2 separate regions of the Homo sapiens genome follow, and region 2 is linked to region 1. The links are contacts of gene promoters, found by promoter capture Hi-C in blood cells and fetal thymus (Javierre and others, 2016). All regions are on one chromosome and are shown on one strand. The core of a region is centred on a gene start or on the middle of the fragment in contact, and the rest is flanking DNA. Distances in the headings are between cores, read along the strand shown. Region 1 holds the start of ODAPH (odontogenesis associated phosphoprotein). Region 2 overlaps LOC105377282 (a long non-coding RNA gene).

What was found. The method cuts DNA at HindIII sites, captures the fragments that hold promoters and counts their contacts. A CHiCAGO score of 5 or more calls a contact.
Region 2: a fragment that was not itself captured here is called in contact with the fragment with the promoter of ODAPH in region 1 in 1 of 17 cell types (M0 macrophages); the score reaches 5.3 in M0 macrophages.

The regions. Positions count from the first base shown.
Region 1 is chr4:75,554,660-75,557,359 of GRCh38, reverse strand. ODAPH (odontogenesis associated phosphoprotein) reads right to left here and starts at 1,294. Exons shown (of 2, transcript NM_178497.5): 1 at 1,211-1,294. The coding sequence starts at 1,277. RefSeq lists a silencer at 1,267-1,561. The HindIII fragment of the contact is 3,725 bases long and covers 1-1,458 here.
Region 2 is chr4:74,873,390-74,876,089 of GRCh38, reverse strand. It overlaps LOC105377282 (a long non-coding RNA gene), which reads left to right. Exons shown (of 4, transcript XR_938886.2): 3 at 1,100-1,222. Among named protein-coding and RNA genes, the nearest start is that of PARM1, 58 kb to the left of the region's middle. The HindIII fragment of the contact is 1,603 bases long and covers 492-2,094 here.

The DNA.
Region 1 (2,700 bases), core at 45-2,544:
CCTCAGTGGGTGTTTTTAAGATGTGAATAAAATAAATCTCTAATCTCATTATAACTTGTTTAGCTATGTGTTTACAAAGCCTCCTGAAGAGCGGTTCACTTTTTGCAGAGAAAGTGGCAGGTGGCTAGTTTTGTTTTATGATGCTTCTTTTAGATGTCACTTTTAGTAGGTGAGGCTTGGGGGCCTTGCCTTGGGATATGGGGGCAGGTTTTGTTCATAATCTATGCCCTGTCCCCTGATTGCCAGAGTGTGTGCAGAGGTTGGATCAGGGGGTTTCTGAGTGTTCCACAACCAGCTCTTATGTCTCTCCCCTCCTCCTGTCTATTGTGAGCTCTGAGGGATGGGAACGGGGAATCTGTCTGGGGATGAGCAGGGTTTGGCTGAGCCCCTGCAAAGCCCCCTACCCAAGACATGTGAAAGGGGTGAAGTGCTCTGTTTGACTCCTAGGTCCATCTTCCGTAAACAGCATCTAGTTTTGGAATTAAAATAAACTGAAGAAAAGGTTAGATCTAGGCTCCCCAAGATTTCCTCCCCTTGTATTTCCCTCTTTTCATCCCTTCCCCAGCCTTTTCTTTCCTTTTCCTAGGGGTTTGCAAACCAATTGTAAGGCTCAGGACACATTTTGTAGTGGGAACAAAGAAAGAGAATAGGAACAGTTGAGAAATGGAATCTAATAAAATCCTAAAGAAAGAAACCTGTGCCCACCTCTGTGGCACCAAAATGCAGCTCAATAGATGTGATTAATTAAAGCAATGAACAAAGACTAAATACCCACCATGTGCAAATTAATATGCTGCTGGAGATAGAAAGTGGACAGTGCTGTAATTCAAAGTGGAATTGTTAGCTTTGTAACCATAATAACTAGTATTTGTACAGTGTTTTTAGCTTGAAGAGTTTTTCACAGATGATAGCTCATTTGGTCCTTGCAAACCCCATAACGATGGATATTGTTAATGTTGTCACTTCACATATGAGGAATCTGATACTCAGAGATTTTAAGTGTGTCTAAAGTCACAGAGCTATTGCTGAGACGAGGACCAAGGTCTTCAGGTGACAAAATCCAACTTCCTTCTCTTTAACCACACAGGCTGATGGAAGCTGAGGTAAATATTTCCAATTTATGGGAACGTATAATCATGGAGCCAGTTTTGTCTTTTCCTACAACTTATTAATTAGTGGACCCACAGTAGAATAAAAGCAAAACCCTTACCTTCTGCCACAGTTACCACCAACCAGCATACCAGTAACCAGTAGGAGAAGCAGTGTCTGCGAGCCATGGCTTCTACTGAGCAGTCACTGCGTTGAACCTGATGTTGCTTTAAAGGGGAGCTGGTGAGTCACCAGCAGCCTGATTCAGGTAATTTGCATTTGCACAGTGGACCACAGAGATCAGGGCTTGCGGTGTGAGGGTAAGAAATCAGCAAGGAAATACCAGACAGTATTTGTCAACCAGAAGCTTCTTGGAATGACAGCCAGATATCAATCATCTCCCCCCAGAGGGGGATTTTGGACAACCGCACCTTCACCATCCTTCTAATCTCTCAAATCTTCTCCCATGTTAGTGCCTTTTAGTTGTGTATATCAGTCTTCCTCTGCAAGAGAAATAAGCTGTCCAGAAATATGCAACAGTGCTTCTCTCTGTGCAGCTTACCTACTTAAAAAGCGAAACAAGAGGGAGAGGGCATTACCCGGAGGCTTCCTGACCCCGGTGGTTTGCAGTGGAGAGTTGGGGATCATTCTTAGGCCCCCAACCAGGGTTTATGCTGCTTCTCTGCTCTGCTTTTGTCCAGGAGGTGAGGGCAGCAGAATCAGAAAGTGATCTTCCCTAGTGGTCATGATGGTCACTGTCTAAACAAACATAAACATTGGGAGAGTAACTTAGTGAGTCGTCCTTTCACGGCTCCTCCTGATTCACCATATTGCATATAAAATGGACATGACATGTCTATGTCCAGTTGGTTTCCTGAGAGAAAGACTTCATCAGCTGCTGGATATATGAGAGGGGATTGTCACAGGTGATTAAGAACATGGACCTTGGAGTCAGGTAAAATTCCAGTCTTTGTTCCTTTTCTTACTAGCTGAGTGACTGTGGTGAGTCCCTGAGACTTGCTGAAGCCTCAGGGGCCTCACCTGTAAAATGGGACTTGTGGTACTACCCTCAGAGGAATTTGTGAATTAAGGAGATGCTTTTAAAAAAAATTTTTTTTAAATTTCAATCTTTTGGGGTACGAGTGGTTTTGGGTTACATGGATGGACTCTATGGTGGCGAACTCTGAGATTTTAGTGCACTCGTCACCCGAGCAGTGTACACTGCACCCAATATGTAGTCTTTTATCCCTCACCTCCTTCCCAACCTCCCCCACCCCTAGCCTCTAAAGTCCATTATATCATTCTGTATGTCTTTGTGTCCTCATAGCTCAGCTCCCACGTATAAGTGAGAACATACGATATTTGGTTTTCCATTCCTGAGTTACTTAACTTGGAATAATGGCCTCCAGCTCCATCCAAGTTGCTGCAAAAGACATTATTTCATTTTTTTATGGCTGAGTAGTATTCCATGGTGTATTTCTACCACATTTTCTTTATCCACTCGTTGGTCGATGGCCACTTAGTTGGTTTCATATCAAGGAGATAATTGACATACAGCTCCAACCACAGTGCCTGGCCTGTGAAAGGGAGTGTTTGTGATTGTCATTAAAT
Region 2 (2,700 bases), core at 44-2,543, 680 kb after region 1:
TCTGCCAGCTGAATTGCCCAATTGTTTAAAGGGAAACTTGAAGTCATGTAAAGAACGTGGCTTAATGAACCTCATATACTGTACAATTTAATTTTTGATTGTAGGTTCAGGACTTTTTCCTGATCTCCATTTTTTTTAATACTCCCTTATTAGGTGTTTTAAGAAGGGATTATTACTCAACAGATGTTAGTATCCTTACTCTCAAATAGTAGACTACTTATTCTTTGTTTATATTTTTGTTGTTCATATAGATGTTTTTATGATAAGAGCACTAATATTTTTAACAAATCCTTCTAATTGGCCTCTGCAAATTCTAGACTAAAGTCTCAGTTCAATTTCATAATGGTAACAGGAGTACGAGGCACCCTTGTGTTGTTACTTCCTTTTTATCTGTACTTTGCTCAGGTAGCTGCACTAGTAAACTGAATAGAAACTCCAATTGCATTTGGCTGGTGCAGCTGTGGCATCACTGTGCTAGCTATCATGAAGCTTTCTGCATGTCTCAGGCATCTTGAGAACAGCTCTACCATATCTTTGGAAACTCCAAATGCATTAGAGTCTGGAATATCCTTTCCTCAGAGACAGGAAAAGGAGGCAAGGAAGTATTCTTTCCGCTAAAGTCAGAATAAATAATAATGACTGTCTAAGGTCAATGTGGAGGGGTATCTCACAGCAGCCACTCTTCTTTGCTTGGTGACTTCCTGTTTAGCTAGTAAATAGGAAAACCCAAAGACATTAGTGAAAGTATTTCATTTTACCCAGACTTTGCCTCATTGTGAGCTGGTGAGCAAGTACAGGGGTTCACATAAAATGTTTGGCTGCTTCCAGAGAAACCAAAACCTACTTCAGAAAAAGATCAGCAGTGAGACCAATGTGTGAAGAGAACTTTAGGAAAACATAAAGCAAAACAGATTAGTGGCTCTCAACACCAGGTCCAATGAAAGGCAAGTGTTCCTCCAATGTCTTTGTGCCTGATCTGATTGATAATATTTATTTATTTTTTGTTTATATGATAGGCCCAATCTTCCTAGTTGCCCAAGGAAAAACCAATGGCTAAGTATATAAGGCTAAATAAGAGTGGATTCCTCTTCTCCTCTAGGTCTTGTTCAGTTTGCTGTGTTCTCTACTGCCATCTGGTGGTCAAGAAGGATCAATCACTGCCCTTGCAATGAAGAACTCTATGAAAGCGAAGGCTTGGCCATTTTGTGTTCAGCTCCTTCCAGTAAATACTCCATGGCATGATTATTTATTTTTCCTTTTCTCTTATTCATAAATCAGAGTGGCTGTTTGAACTTAACCACCCTTATCAAAATCTTTAAAAATATTTAAAATATTTTGACCCAGTGCTTCCACTTTTATAATCTCAAAGAAACATAAGCAGACAGATTTATGTATGAGCATGTTTCTCAAAGTGTTATTTATAATAGCAAAATTGGAACTACCACAAATGTTCAAAAATAGGAATTGTTAAAATTGGAGTGTTCTGTACCACTATTCACTCACGCTTTAGAAGAACATTTAATGACATGGGAAAATGTTTATAATATATTATGAAGTGAACAAACACAGTTAAAAAGCAAGTAAAACTTCACAATCTCCATTTTGGCTTTCTGTGTATTTCCTCCTTTCAAAGGCATGAACATATAATACTTTGGGAACCAGAAAGAAATGCCACCATAAATATTTTATAAATATGGTTACCTGCATGGTAGAGTATCAGTATCAACTTTTTTTTTAAAGTAACACGTCTTTTAAGATATCTATCCTAGAACTTTATTAAAAACATACTTCTACAGAATATCAGTGCAAAGGATCGTGAACAATTGCTTTAGTGTTCTTGGGATCAGGAATAATCCAGGAAGCCAGAGCATGCAGCTGCCACTTCAGGTTTGCTAATGAGTCTTGTGGCTAAGATAAAAAGCATGTTATTTGTTGCATGACCCTAAAGAGTTATTAATTTGTTCTAAGGCTTATATTTTGCTCCCAAGAGTTGTTGGTGGGGATGTGGAAGATGATGCAATTCAAATCACTGTGCAGTATGTGCAGTAACCAGAGCTCTATTTTATAATTGGACACAGTCCATTTCTTAAAGCTTTTTCAAGACATAGCTTTGAGATTTTTCTTTGTACAATGAAAAGGTACACAGAGACTGCTTTGCTTGCTTCACTGGGTAATTAGCCCACAAAGAGAAGATTGAAGGTGCTCTCACGGGTTTCTTTAAATGGAGCTAAGAGCAGCTGCCCTTGGGTCCTAGGAGCAGCTGTGTGGCTAGCCAAACCCAGCTAGAAGGTGTTCCTCCTACAGAGCTTTCTGTTTCACATTTGTTCACTTAATACATTTGGACACAATTTCCATATACATGGTTAACATGTCACTTCTGTCTACCCTAAGGGCACCAGGTGGTAGCTCCAAGAAGAGGAAATCATTTTCGGAGTTCCCTGCTGGCTCAATCAACACTTTTCACTTCTCCTAATGAGATGGTTAACCTGTTTTTTTCATTTAGCCATTTGGTCAACAAAACTTTAATGGCTGTTATAGAGTAGTTTATAATTTCCACACTTACAGGCATTAACACCATTACTATTAGATTGGGAAACAGAGATTCGACTAATCCTCCAGCTTAAGCTGAAAACATATCTCCATAGAGATTTTTCACTGAATTAATTCTACTAAATTCTTGGGTCAAACACAGTTAATGTT